Regions from separate parts of the Homo sapiens genome. Here regions 1 and 2 are each linked to region 3. Evidence: promoter capture Hi-C in human tissues and cell types (Jung and others, 2019). All regions are on one chromosome and are shown on one strand. The core of a region is centred on a gene start or on the middle of the fragment in contact, and the rest is flanking DNA. Distances in the headings are between cores, read along the strand shown. Region 1 has its middle 140 kb from the start of ZNF618. Region 2 has its middle 47 kb from the start of SLC46A2. Region 3 holds the start of POLE3 (DNA polymerase epsilon 3, accessory subunit).

What was found. The method cuts DNA at HindIII sites, captures the fragments that hold promoters and counts their contacts. A contact is called where the count stands out against the background at its distance.
Region 1: a contact is called between a fragment that was not itself captured here and the fragment with the promoter of POLE3 in region 3, in 1 of the 25 tissues and cell types used here (liver).
Region 2: a contact is called between a fragment that was not itself captured here and the fragment with the promoter of POLE3 in region 3, in 1 of the 25 tissues and cell types used here (thymus).

The regions. Positions count from the first base shown.
Region 1 is chr9:113,733,680-113,738,169 of GRCh38, forward strand. No RefSeq gene overlaps it. Among named protein-coding and RNA genes, the nearest start is that of ZNF618, 140 kb to the right of the region's middle. The HindIII fragment of the contact is 4,468 bases long and covers 1-3,602 here.
Region 2 is chr9:112,935,398-112,940,253 of GRCh38, forward strand. No RefSeq gene overlaps it. Among named protein-coding and RNA genes, the nearest start is that of SLC46A2, 47 kb to the left of the region's middle. The HindIII fragment of the contact is 6,082 bases long and covers 1-4,856 here.
Region 3 is chr9:113,408,977-113,414,037 of GRCh38, forward strand. POLE3 (DNA polymerase epsilon 3, accessory subunit) reads right to left here and starts at 1,699. Exons shown (of 5, transcript NM_017443.5): 1 at 1,641-1,699; 2 at 1,252-1,432; 3 at 1,079-1,164; 4 at 634-752; 5 at 1-7. The coding sequence starts at 1,317. C9orf43 (chromosome 9 open reading frame 43) reads left to right here and starts at 1,771. Exons shown (of 14, transcript NM_001278629.2): 1 at 1,771-2,025; 2 at 4,469-4,668; 3 at 4,783-4,918. The coding sequence starts at 4,518. RefSeq lists enhancers at 497-1,696, 599-1,498, 1,071-1,350, 1,591-1,780, 2,399-3,298. The HindIII fragment of the contact is 6,520 bases long and covers 1-5,061 here.

The DNA.
Region 1 (4,490 bases), core at 119-2,618, 320 kb after region 3:
ATCTAGAGGTGGGGATAGACGTAGTTCCAGAGAAACCTCTTTCTAACAAACATAAAATCAAACATTCTCTTGAGTGTGAGTTCTCTTAAGTTAAGGGGTGAGATCCTGGAGAAGAGTGTGGGATGTGCCTGCAGGGGCAGATGGGGGACACCAGCCTGGGAATCAGGAGACCAGCTAGGTTCTCATAAGCTATCCCTAATCTGGCTCTTCCAACCCTGTGAATACTGAGGCCAGCATTGTCTTTATAGAGCACAGTTTAACTCTGTGTTTTAGATCAGGGGTCCACAACCCCCGGGACCTGGACTGGAACTGGTCTGTGGCCTATTTGGAATTGGGCCACACAGCAGGCAGCGAGCAGTGGGCAGTGGGCGAGCGAGCATTATTGTCTGAGCTCTGCCTCCTGTCAGATCAGCAGTGTTATTAGCTTCTCACAGGAGCTTGGACCCTATTGTGAACTGTGTGTGCGAGGGAGCTAGGTTGTAGACTCCTTATGAGAATCTAATGCCTGATGATCTGAGGTGGAACAATTTCATCCCCAAATCATCTCCCCAACCCCCTGTCCATGGAAAAATTATCTTCCACAAAACTGGTTCCTGGTCCCAAAAAGGTTGGGGACCGCTGTTTTACACAGTCCATTCACATGTCCCAAACACTTCCATGACTTTCCATGAGGAAGGAAATGGGAGGCCATTTCAGACAGGAAGACGTACATGGGTAAAGGTATGGATTTCCTCAACGTTTCTTGCCATTTGTCCATCTTTGACGTCACCCTCTCCCTTGTTGGAGTGGTTAAGGCAGGATAAAGTCCAAATTCTGTCACTTCCATAAAACACCCTGTCTGGTCTGGACCCTGCCAGTCTCTTTCACCACTCTCCTTCCACCCTAGACTTGGCCCCAGACATACCCAGCTGCTTGCAGGTCTATGAATTCATCCAGCTTCTATACCTGTATCTATGCTGTGCTGTATACCTGGAGGTACATCCCTGCCCTTCCCTCTTCCAGGAAGCCTTCACTCCTATAACAGTGATAAGCAGCTAGTATTGGCTAGGATAATTCTGGCAGCATATGACAGAGACCAAATAACAGTAGTTCACATAAAATACTAGTTAATTTGTTTCTCACCTAGTTATTAGGAAGGCTCTGCCTTACAAAGCTGCCTATAATGCAGATTCCTTCTGTGTTGGTCTGGGATGTATTCTTTATCCACATGATCCAAGGTGGCTTTCATTTGTCACTGTTATGAGGAAAGGCTTCTGGGAAGAAGGGCAGAAATGAGTCCTCCAACACGGAAAGGACATGCAAGCAGGAAGGGCAGGTGTCCTCTCTTTCAAAGGCATGGCCTGGAAGTTATACGCATCACTGGCACGCACTCCCCATTAGCCAGAACTGACTCACATGGGCACAAAACCCAGCTGCAAGGAAGGTGGGGGAGTATAGCTTTTATTCTGGGAAGCCTCTGTTATTATGAGAGAAAAGGGGAAGGCTGACATTGGAGAATGGCTGTATGTGGATGAGAGCTGTGAGAACAGAAGGACCACCCAGAAGGAATGAAGATGAAGACTTAACCACTCCAACAAGGGAGAGGGTGATGTCACCCTTCCTTCTTAAGGAAGACTTAACCACCCCAATAAGGGAGAGGGTGACGTCAAAGATGGACAAATGGCAAGAAATGTTGAGGAAATCCATACCTTTACCCATGTACATCTTCCTGTCTGAAATGCCCTCCCATTTCCTTCCTCATTTCTCCAGGCCCAATTTATGCTTGATTTCCTCATGGAGGCCTCTACTGACAACTTCAGTCTTTCCCGGGCCTAGATAAAAAGTCTCTGTCTGGGTTACTAACTGGGCCAACATGATTATAATCATCTTTTATTGATGCCTCTTATGAAACAGGTAATTTATATACATATACATATCTCATTTTCTTCTCACCATGCCTTTATGAGACTTTTATTATTATTTTTTTATTTTTTATTTTTTAAAGAGACAGGGTTTCACTCTGTCACCCAGGCTGGTCTCCACCTCCTGGCCTCAAGCGCGATTCTTACCTGAGCTCTGACATTACAGGTGTGAGTCACTGCACCTGGCCCCTTGTTAGACTTTAAGAGGCTCGGCGAAAAATCACTTCTCTCTCCCCTTCTGAAATGAGGATCAATTGGGAAATAAAATCCAGGAGACTGGCGAATGGACATCAATGTTAGCTTTTTATTGATAAACTGATTGGAGAGCATGACTTCCTATTTGTGGTCAAAGGGCTGGCTCATAACCCTCTTTGCACCCATACAGGATCCCATACAGGGTCCCCCATAGAGAACTTGGAAAGGCCTGCTGGGGGAAGTTTGGGCTTCAGAGTCACTCATCTACTGAGGATTCCTGCCTAGCCCTGGTATGGAGAAAAGGGATGAAAAGAGGAAACATCCCTAGTCTTACAGTCTTTTAATAACTTAGCTCTACCCACCAAGAACTGTGGTCCCAAGGCTGTGGCCCCACATCAGGTAACTCATTCACTTCCCCTCTGAGGGGTAGAGGGGAAGGGGCGGGGCAAGAGGCCAGGAGTGTTACTCTTTTTGCGTTCTGTCCATGGGGAAACGGGAGGCAAGAGGAACGAAATTTCTGCCATAACAATCCCTAATGAGAGGAATTGCTTTGCCCATGTTATAGGCGAGGAAATCAGCACTGCGAGAAGGGCTGTGACTTGCTAGGGTCACTGAGATGTCATCCAGGTATTAGATGGCAGAGAATTTTGGAACCAAATCTATCTAGCCTTGGTCATTAGTCACTATCTGTAGTAGCTTATAAGCTCTTTGAAGGAAGCATTACAATCAAACATCTCTACTTTCCCAGCAGCAGCTAGCAAAATGTCTGTTCATTAAAAGACTCACAGCAGAGTCTGGTATAAAGGGCCCGGGTTCTGGTCCACATATGTTGCCTCTTTGTCCTCGTCTCATGTTCAGTCAATCTCTTTACCAGGACGTTTCACGTCAGAGCAGGAAGCAGTGATGCTACCTGGGGACCTTGTCAACGCTGCTGCCTCTGAAGAGTCCCTTGCTGGGTTTATAGTTTGAGGCACTTTGTTGCATTTTTTTGAAATCCACTTTCTCCGTTGAGCCTCCTACTACTCCTGAGGAGGGAAGAAAAGGGTGGTGAAGAGATTAAGGGCAATGTGGGATTAAGGACCATGGGTGGTCCAGGCTGGTAGTTTAGTTCGTAACCCTTCAAATAAATAGCCTTAAATATTTGCCCAGGATGTATTTCTTTCTTTTTTTTTAATTTTATTGTATTTTTTTTTGCGGGGGGGATGGAGTCTCGCTCTGTCACCAGGCTGGAGTGCAGTGGCCCAATCTCGGCTCACCACAACCTCCACCTCCTGGGTTCAAGCAATTCTCCTGCCTCAGCCTCCCGAGTAGCCGGGACTACAGGTGCCCGCCACCACGCCCCGCTAATCTTTGTATTTTTAGTAGATACAGAGTTTCACCATGTTGGCCAGGATAGCCTCGATCTCTTGAGCTTGTGATCCACCCGCCTTGGCCTCCCAAAGTGCTGGGATTACAGGCGTGAGCCACCATGCCAACATGTATTTCAAGAGGATAGAGAGAGACTGGCTGTTAATAGAAATTGCACAGAAAAAGGGATTCTCTTACTAATGAATCTTGGGCAGAAGTGGTGGTGTTTACGTCAAGAAAAAGGCCTGCCCAGCATTTCCCACTTTTCTGTGGTCTTTATACTCTATATAGTTTTCTTTTGCAACTTGCTAAACTGTACAGCTTTTTGGCAGATATATTAAATGATTTTATATTTAGATAATGAAAGAAGTCACTTGTTCCCAGTAAACAGCCCCGCTCCATGGAACACATCTTTACAGAACTTCTGGTGCCTCCTGAAGAACAGAGGGCTATGCTTGGGAGAAACGCTGTATTTTTATCTTCCACTGGAGGGCGCTGTCTACTTTGGTGGAAGTGGAACCATCGATTCCACCAATTTATTCTAGCAGTGTTTCAGCTCACCTGGTGAATTTGTGCCTTGGGCAGTTGTCCAGCAGTCTACTCCTTAATCTGGCTTTTTCCAAGGTCCCACAGGGCAGTAGTCAGGGCTCGGATGAGACCCCAATCAGTGTCATTTCTACTGAGCTGGGCCACTGAACTCTAAGAGTTCTTGTCTTTGAAAAGAAGGCTTTTCAGAGCATACCGCAGCCTCATCCCATATGTGTGTATCTGTTACCCATTCCTATACTGTCTGTGACTCAATTTCCATGACTTTGCATCCTTTGCCTTTGCAAAAATATAAACTGGGCATCTTTCTTTTCTTTTCTCTTTCTTTCTCTCTCTCTCTCTCTTTCTCTCTCTTTCTTTCTCTCTCTCTCTCTCCTCTCTCTCTTTTTCTCTCTTTCTCTCCTCTCTTTCTTCCTTTCCTTCTTTCTTTCCTTCTTTTCTTTCTTTCCTTCCTTCCTTTCTTCCTTCCCTTCCTTCCTTTCTCTTTCTTTCTTTATTTCT
Region 2 (4,856 bases), core at 1,009-3,508, 470 kb before region 3:
ATCAAGCTCATCTGAGGATAGACTTATACTACCTCCTTGCAAGGTTTCTTGACCTTATGAGCTGGATGATTCTGTTTGGGGCAGGGCTGTCCTGTGCAATGTAGGGTGTTCAGCAGCATCCCTTGCTTTTACCTGCCAGATACCAGTAGCACCCACCTCCTAGTTAGGACAGCCAAAAATGTCTTCACACATTGCCAAATGTCCCCTTGCAGTACAAGACCTACCTCCCCACCCCAGTTGAGAGTCGTTGTGCTAAGGCTATCTCCTCTCCTGTGTGTAGGATCCTGGGGCATAAATTAAAACACGTGGAGGTAACCTCCCGGGCATAGCTAGCAACTCCAGCTGCGCTCAATTCCCTTCCTATCCAGAGGATTCCAGGGAAGCAGGAGCCTTGGCTGGGCAGGACCCAGATTTGCCCACCAAATGCAGAGGAGAATGGCTGGAGGGAACCAGCAAGTTCAGATGACCAGCAGCTCTAAAAGACAAAAGGACTAAGGACATCTCCAAAGAGTTAGTATAATAAGATGAAGTATGACTGCGTACTGTTAAATAGGCACTTGATAAGCTTCACTATCTTGGGATATGGGGTTTACATGCCTCGAGAATGAGGTTAGTCTTTGGTAGGAGACTTAAAGATACTTCATAGTGGGTGGGTCTGTTATGAATGTCATTGAACCTTAGTCACTCAACATGTATAGGTTGTTTTCAGGAAAAACCATCTTGGAGTGACAACTGTACCTGGAACTTAAACTGTTATGGTGGAATTGGTAATGGTGACAAAAGCCTATGTTTCTTCCAAATCCTAAGTGTCTTCAAACTCTACCACAACTTTGATCTTTTGAGAGCTTTTCAAGAAAAATGGATGAAACACAGGCTTGAGCCTAGACCCCAATTAAAATGTCAGGTTATTTATTTATTTATTTATTTTACATAACCAAACAACCAAATCCACTTTTGCTAACCCTGTATCCTAGCCCTATGGTGCTCTGGTTTCTTCTCTCATCAAACCAGGTTTTCCTGACATACCCCTGACTTCAAAGGCTTCATATCTGTTTTTGAGGAAATTAATACCTGTGAGGACTAGGACTCTGAAGACTGAGGCAAAATCTTCATGTTGAAGGGATGGGAAAAGAACAGTCCTGTCAGAACAAGGTAGGATCCCAGGTTCTTGCCATTAGAGGCTGGGGAAGGGAAACATCTAGGAGAGTAGAACAGATAATTCTTTTCTCCATTTGTTGTATAAACTTGGTCCCACTCCCAGCATTGAGCAAGGCAGAGTTAAACCATCAGAAAATAATTACCTATGCAGGAAGTCAGTCCTGTCAGAACAGCATGACAGCTGCTGGTGGTCAAGTCGAGTTCTGGATTTTAGCCACCCAGCCTGAGGGTCTGTGTCCGAGAACACAGCAAGATTTGGGAGATGGAGCACAAGGAATAGGAGGGCAATGTCCCTTAATTGCAGGGACAACTCATCTTACCAGAATTAGATTAAGTCATTGAAAACTAGGTTGTCTTCCTGAATATTCTTGGAAGTCTATCTTGATAGGTGTCAAATCAGACATACTAGCAGCTCCTTTGAATGATCGGGGATTGGGGTTCTCTAAGCTTCAAATCCCCTCAGCTGTGCCAGAGCTACCCTACTCAAGGCTGCGCCTCATTGCGATGAGACTTGCACAAGGGAGGCTGGGGGTGGGGGAAATGGATTCAAACACGAAGCTTGTGCCACCTACCAGGCAGTAAGTCAGTCGTTTTTTCTCTGACGAGGGGTTTCCTGTCTCGGCATCTATAAAACTGTGGCAGGATAACTTGTTAGCTTGAAAATAGGGTAAAATCTTGACTCTTGATGGTTCTTAAGTTTTGGTGATGAGAATGGGACACAAACCTGGATTTCTGCAAGAGAAAGGACAAAGATCCTTTGCAGGCTGGGTCAGGGGAGATGAGAAGCAAGTCCCTTGAGACCCTGTGTCTGGTAGTGAACGCTGCTGCCCAAGTGTGAGGGTAAGTCTTCACTGTCCTGTTAATGAGACTAAGGGGTTGAGACTAGGATTGAAACAAGCAGCCCCAATAGTGCTTTTAGTCATTTGCTTTCTTCCTAGTGGGGAGAAGGAAGGTCAAGGAGTCACTAAAGCTGACACAGGGTGTTGGGTGAACGAAACTGGTTGAGCCATGAGCAGCTGTTTAGAGACTGACAGTAATGGGCCTGGCTTACTGGTGTAAGTTACAATGCCTTATTGGACTCCTTGGACATTGGAAACAGAACAGGTCTGACTTTTGTCAACTGGGGCCTCTGGCAAAGGGAGTCAGCCTCCCACCTGGAGGTGCCATTGGTGTCCTGGAGTTGTGGCCCCTCTGACAGGGCTACCCAGGTAGACCTCTTTTGGAAAGTAGCTCTTGGCTTCTTGAGTTCCCATTGAAATGAAACACCTCATCTCTAGAGGCTTTGTGACTTAGTCCTGAAATTATCATTTTGGGATGGGTCAGTTTGCACTCAAAGACTAACAAGGTAGAAAGCACCCCAAAAGCCTTGCTTAGAAATAGCCGTGACATAGCCAAGAACGAAACAGTCTTTGCCCAGTGGTATCTTGGCTTTATGCGGAAAAGTAGCTGTAATTCCTATGGAGAAACTGCATTCTACCTACTCTGCTACTGGGGAGGAAAAGCCACTGGCCCAAGATGCCCTCCTTTGTACTTGCCTGAGCCTGCCTCAGTGAGGGTCTGGCTGAGTTGAAACCTCAGTGTCCACTGGGCTGATGCAAGTCCTCAGCCTCAGAGCCAGCCCTGCAGAGCTAAGAGTGAATGTGGTTGCCCTACTCAGAGCAGAATTCAAACTGCTGGGCTGTTAATGGCCTGTTTGCCAGTTCATGTTCTAAGTGGAAGAAACAGATCAAATAGTCCTCTCAAACTGGAAACTATCTGGCTCACTCCCTCAGATACCCATGGCAAAGGCTGGTTCTGAAACTAACTAGAATCAAGCTGCTGATTGAACTGAACTGTGTTTTGATGCAGAGGCTACTGTTGCACACCAAACTTCTGACTCCTGCCACAAGCTCATGCAATATCACAAAAGGTAGTTCCCTTTTCCCTGCCTGGAAGATTGACTTTATCAGCTCTGACCCCCTTCTAAGACTGTTTCTCCATAGATTCTTCCTCAGGTTATTTATGAGCTTATTTTCCCTAAGCCAAAAAGGAGGCCTTGGGGACTCAAACCTGTTAAATCTTAGTGTCCTATCCCTTTCACCTGATCTACAGAAGGTCTGGGTGTGAGCAGGGAATGGTTGGATAATAGCTGGAGTTGTAGCTCCTGGAATGGGACATCAATTTTGTGGAGATGATGGAAGAGCAACAAACAAGCCAGCATCTGCTGAGGTGACCTGTCTTACACCCTAGGAGGTGAGAAAGAAAGAGGGGCATTAGTGATACCCCTCTCAGAACTGTGCTAGAGTCTTGGTACAGAAAGGAAAACTCATGGCATGTCTCTCAAACTATAGCAATCTGACTGCTGGGTCTGCCATCCTCAGCCAGACAGCTGACTGTTTAAACGTCTGTCTTGCCCCATCCTCTAGATGATGCATTTGTTGGTCGTGATGGCTTCATCCACAAAGTGGCACTTACCTTTGATAAACACTGGGAACATTGAAGTTCATGTTGAACAATGAACGTTGGGTCATTGAACAATGACCCCTGCTCTCAGAACTGCCCTGAAGTTTTGATACAGAAGGAAACTCCATGACATGTCCCTCAAACCACAGCAATCTGACTGCTGGGACTGCCATTCTCAGCCAGACAGTTGACCTATTTTGTGAAGTGGATAAATGCAACCCAGCTGGCATTATCAGCAATCTAGACTGACTCTCCTCAGGCAGACCCCCTGAGTAGATGGAACCGGGAATTTTCAGGCTTACCAGCTGGCTGGGAGTCTATGCTGGAGCCACTGTCAACCTATGCTAAGTGGTATAGATCTCACTTTGGGTAAGGCAAAATAAACGCTGTGTCCAGGGATGCTCTGTTCCACATCACTGTAGCTTCTACTTAAGCTGTACATCAAGCTGGACATCAGTTTGCCTCTTTCCTAAAACAATTGACTTAGACCCTAGTGGTGGTCACAGGAGACCTGGAAGTGTTTAGGGAAACACTACCTGGGTCCTGACAGAGCAGCCCAGCCTAATTCACTGGCCAGGATTGTTATGGTTGTGACTCACCCTAGACCTCTTCCTTGTGTGCCAAGGTGCAGTCTGTGCAATTGCTAATACATCTTGTTCCACCTGGGTTAATGCTTTGGGTTAATACAGAAACTTAAGGAGCAAGCTACTTGGCTTTCTAAGGTAGATGTTGATGATTTGAAATCTGTTCAGCTGGAACCCTGGGGGTTATAGCTAAGCTCAATATTACAGGTTGGTCTAATTCTGGTGCTTAGAGTACAAACTAGAATTTTTGTCTTGGCTCATGTTGGCCATATTAGTCATACTGGTTGAATGGCATGCTCATGGAAAAAAATCTGCCAGAAGCCAGGACCCTATAGAAACAAGAGAATGATGCTATTGCAGGGCAATCCTCAAAGGCGTTTCTACATATCTTGTGATGACTTATGTCCTGGACCAGCTTACTAAGGACTCTTGTATGGCAAACCAGCAGGGAGGGTAGAGATGCTGTCTCTCTGGGGCAGAGGACAGACTAGCTTCCTGACCAGAATAATAAAGATAACGGCTTACCACTGTCACTTGGCTGTCCAATAGTCACTTCAAACTTAACGTCTAAATCTGAACTCGATCTTTCCAAAAAAACTGCAACTCTTAGTTTTCAACTAATGTTCACTTTTTTCTGTTGCTTGGGCCAGAAATCTAACATGTCATTCCTTC
Region 3 (5,061 bases), core at 449-2,948:
CTATATGCTGTAAGGACGGAACAAGGGGTTAGGAGACAGAGCTGAAAGTGAGCCAGACGGACTGCAGGAGCTAATTACATTGTACAATTGGAAAAACGGAGGCAGATGGGCGCGGTGGCTCACGCCTGTAATCCCAGCACTTTGGGAGGCTGAGACGGGCGGATCACCTGAGGTCAGGAGTTCAAGACCAGCCTGGCCAATATGGTGAAACCCCGTCTCTACAAAAATAAAAAATGAGCCGCACGTGGTGGCGTGCGCCTGTAGTCCCAGCTACTCGGGAGGCTGAGGCAGGAGAATTGCTTGAACCCAGGAGGAGGAGACTGCGGTGAGCTGAGATCCCATCACTGCACTCCAGCTTGGGTGACAGAGCAAGACTCCGTCTCAAAAAAAAAAAAAAAAAAACAAAAACAAGAAAAGCAAGACAAAAACAAAAACGGAGGCAGAGAAGGAAAAATAACTTGCTCAGCATTACAAAACAGATCTGAGGTGGTGCCCACCGAACTGGGTCGAGTCACATCAAGTGCTGGCTTACTGGACTTAAAGGGACCCGCGCTGAGAAGGCTCAGGGCCTGGTGAACAGGTCACACAGGATGACCATCTTCTATGTGGTTTAGAAGACAAGAGGCTCGTTACCTTCCAGAGCTTCTTTCAATGGGGTAACGAACCGCTGGAACTCCATCTCTTCCATGGCTGAGAGCACATCACTGGCATTCAGCGTCTTCCGCTTTCCTTTCATTGCAAAGTTGTTAGCACTGAGAGAAGAGAAAGGCTGTCAGACTCCCTCTTGTTTGTAAGGCGTGAGTGGGAAAAGGAGCACCCAGAGGTGGAACGGGAAAGCCTGCCTCTTACATGTATGGATTTTGGTGTGACAGGGATAAGTCCTTCCCTTCTCTGCACAAAAAAGCTAAAGCAAAGTGATTTTGTTGTGTTATTTTGCTTCAGAACTTGTAAAAACTGGCAGAGGACTGTGAACATGTCCCCACCGAGGGAGAACACAATCGTTGGGGTTTGTAGGCTCCCAGCCAGCAACTCCCAGCCAGGTATCCCCGCGCCTCCCTTATGCCTCTGTCCCGCTCACCAGGATGTGGCGTACAGCACGAAGACGCTGGCGGCGCGGGAGATGGCGCTCCGGGCCTCCTTGGAGATGTTGACACCGTCCGGGAGCTGCGAGGAGACCGGGGGTGAGCAAAGCTGCCGTTCCAGCACCTGCTTCCCTCCTGCCCGTTCGTCCGCCCCCCCCGAGCTGCTCACCGCCTCCTTGATGATCCTGGTGATCACGGCATTGGGCAGGTTTAGGTCCTCGGGCCTCTCCGCCATTGCCGCCGCTGGGGCTTAAACTCCCCTTCGCCTCCGCTTCAGGGAGCTACTGCGTCCGGACTTCCCGCGTCGCTACGGTCTGACCCTGCGAGGTTTCCGTTCCGCCCCACGTGGCCTACAGTGTCCCACAGTGCTCTGAGCGCCATAGCCTCCCTCCTCCCCCCACAGCCCCGCCTCCGCCTCAAATACCGGCGCATCCGGATTTTGAAGCCGCAGTGGTTTTGGCCCGCCAAGGCTTCCATCCAACCCTACCGCACCCCGCACGCCCCTCCCCAGGTCCATTTCTCTGCTTCTCGCCATCGCCGCGTCGGGAACCTTCTCACCAACTTATTTGGCTCAATGGAGCTTCCGTCCGTTTCCCATGGTGCCCTGCGCCGCTGCTGGGTGACGGCGCGGCCGGGCGCAGCGCGTGGGAGACGAAGGCGTGGCTGACTCGGCGGGGCGGATCCCTTTAGGACCCGAGGCAGGCTCTGGGCCCGCCGGGTCCGTTAATCTCACCGCGCCGCAAGGGGCCACGTTTTACCACTTGATTTAGCAACCCTAAGCGGTTTGGAATCTGCTTTGCTCTCACAGGACCTCAGCCCGTCGTGATCAGATTCTCCCACTTTCTTTTTTCTTTCCTGGAATGGAGTGGGCAGTCTTTTTCCATCTCTACCGAAGTTGATGTTCATTTTTAATCTTTTCGCCCCTCACGCTTTTGTAATAATGGTACTAAGACTGAGTGTTATTTAGATTTTATTGTTGTTGTTTGTGTTTAACGCGAACTATTTAGGCAGCCCAGGGATAATGCTGGCCATATAGAGATGCGCCTGATTAGGTCTCAGGAGTCAATTCGGACTGGGCAGGTAACGAAAGGGCGAGAAGCAGCCTTTTCACTGTATGAAGAATGCAACGTCACATTCGCTTTCAAAAACAAACCGTGTTAAAATTGTATTTATTTTTCAGTTAAATTGTTCATCATACATTTTTTCCAGTTAAAACCATTCTCAAGGTTTTGCAATGGCGTTTCTTTTTTTTTTTTTTTGAGACAGTCTCACTCTGTCGCCCAGGTTGGAGTGCAGTGGCGCCGATTTCGGCTCACTGCAAGCTCCGCCTCCCGGGTTCACGCCATTCTCCTACCTCAGCCTCCTTAGTAGCTGGGACTACAGACGCCCGCCACCACGCCCGGCTAATTTTTTTGTATTTTTAGTAGAGACAGGGTTTCACCGTGTTAGCCAAGATGGTCTCGATCTCCTGACCTCGTGATCCGCCCGCCTCGGTCTCCCAAAGTGCAGGGATTACAGGCGCCAGTCACCGCGCCCGGCGCAATGGTGTTTTAAGTTGTTTTTAAGTTATTTTTATATTAAGTTCGTAGAAATTCTCACTCCCACTGATTTTATTTATTTTTTAATTTTTAAAATTTCTTGACAGGGTCTCACTCCGTCCCCCAGGCTGGAGTGCAGCGGCACGGTCTCGGCTCACTGTAGCCTCGACCTCCCTGGCTCAGGTGGTCCTCCCACCTCAGCCCCAAATAGCTGGGGCTACAGGTGCGTTCCATCACACCCAGCTAATTTTTTGTATTTTTCGTAGAGACAGGGTTTCACCATGTTGCCCAGGCTGGTCTCGAACTCCAGGGCTCAAGTGATTCTCCCTCGGCCTTGCAAAGTGCTGAGATTACAGGCATGAGCCACGGCGCCCAGCCTCCCACTGAGAATTAATGCTGCTTTTTTTTCCCGTCAAGCATGCAGTCCCAAGTCGCCCTGTAGTTTTCCTGCTTTCGATAGAAGCCTGATTATAGAGAAATATTTTAAAACAAAAGAGCAAATGCTATGATAAATGGCAACTGAAAGTGTTTCAATTAGAGACCATAAGGTCTGGTGGGGGAACTCCGCTTGGATAGAACAGACCTGGCTGAAACCATCAGGGCTGCTCAGCGCTAGTCAGTTGCTCTTCAACTGGAATTGGGCTCAGTGTTGTCAAGTATTTTGGTCCCTAAAAGGACATTGTGGGCTATTTCAATTTTAAAATTGATTCAAATTTAAAATTGATTCAAAGTGCTAGCCAAACAAAACAAGTAATAGGCCAGGTGCAATCCCAGGCTGATAGTTTATCTTTGATCTAAATTATGAAACTGTTTAGAACAGGGAGTTTGTTTATTACTGTTCATGTCCAAAGCAGGTCCCCTCACATATTTAGTAATCAATAAATGTGTTGAATAAAAGAAAGAAATGGACACTGTCCTTAAAAAGTTCTTAGGAATAAGGTGGTAGTTAGTGATTGCCTAAAACACCTCTAGAAAGGAAAAGATGATAATATTTATTGAACACCTCCCATGAATAAAAGTACATTATCTCATTTAATGCTTCTGCAGTCCTACTTAGGGATTCCCTGCCTTCTGCTTATGTTATTTATTATTTTTTGTGGAGAGGGGGTAACTCATCTTGGCCTACCAAAGTGCTGTGGTTACAGACCTGAGACACCAAGTCAGGACCCCTCCCCCTACTTGAGAGAGAGGTGTGAAGACCCTTGTCAAAGGCCATATGGCCAATGAATGAAAAGCTAATGGCCTCTGATGCAACTAGCAGTGTCTAGTGATTTGCTATTTGAGCAAACACATTCATTGCTGGTGGGTATTTTATCTGCCTGCATGGGAACTGAAGCACATTGAAAAATGAAACATGTCTTCCAGAAGTTTGGGCCTTCTAAGACACTTCTGTGACTACTTTGGTCATAATTTGATAATGCTTTTTGGAGATGGTGGCATCTTCTCCCTGATGACTAACGAAGGGGAAAAGGAAAGGATGCAAATATTTATTTGGAACAATATGCCAGGCTTTTAATATCCATTAACTAATTTTTATAATGACCCTGTGAAATAAGCTTATCCTCATTTTACAGTGGAGGCAACAGGCTCAGACTGGTTAAGTCCCAGGTCACTCAGCTATTAAATAGCCAATTAGGAGACCTGAAGTCCTGCTCTCAAACTCTTGCCATTCTACTTTATGCTGAGCTATTTTCATACTTGCTTGTTATCCAATCTTTAATTATTTTGTGGCCATCATTTACCTATATAGGTTCAATAGAAATATTTTATACTGTGAGTTCAAATTAACATCTGGACTGTATGGCTAATGTATAATACTCCCTAATTATGTAGCTGTTGATTTTCCAGAGCACTAGAATGCTGCAGGGTTGGCCTTTGGCCTAAACCATTTCTAGCTATGGACTTGCCAGATGAGAGCCAGTGGGACGAAACCACCTGTGGCTTGGCTGTTTGTCAGCACCCACAATGCTGGGCAACTATCCGCCGCATTGAGAGGGGCCATCCTCGAATCCTCGGCTCATCCTGCAAAACTCCCCTGGATGCTGAAGGTGAATTAGCCAGCTTCTGTCCTCTCCCTCACGAGGTCCTTAACGTATTTATGTATGTGGCTCCCTTTCTCCAGGCAGCAGGTTAACATGTTTTCTTCTGGTCTGCCTTCTTAGATAAACTCCCAGTGCTCACCGTGGTAGACATCTTAGATTCCGGCTTTGCAGCTCATCATTTACCAGAATGTACCTTTACTAAGGCCCATTCTTTATTGTCTCAGAGTTCAAAGTTTTACTCCAAATTTCATGGCAGGTAAATTATCATGGAATCTTCCTTTACAGCCTATTGTCTCAAAATTCTGGATTATGATTTTCCTTATCCATTAGTATACTTTGAGAAAGCTAGATTAAAAAGAAAATACCAATTGGGTTAAAGAAGTGGTGAATAGGCAGTGG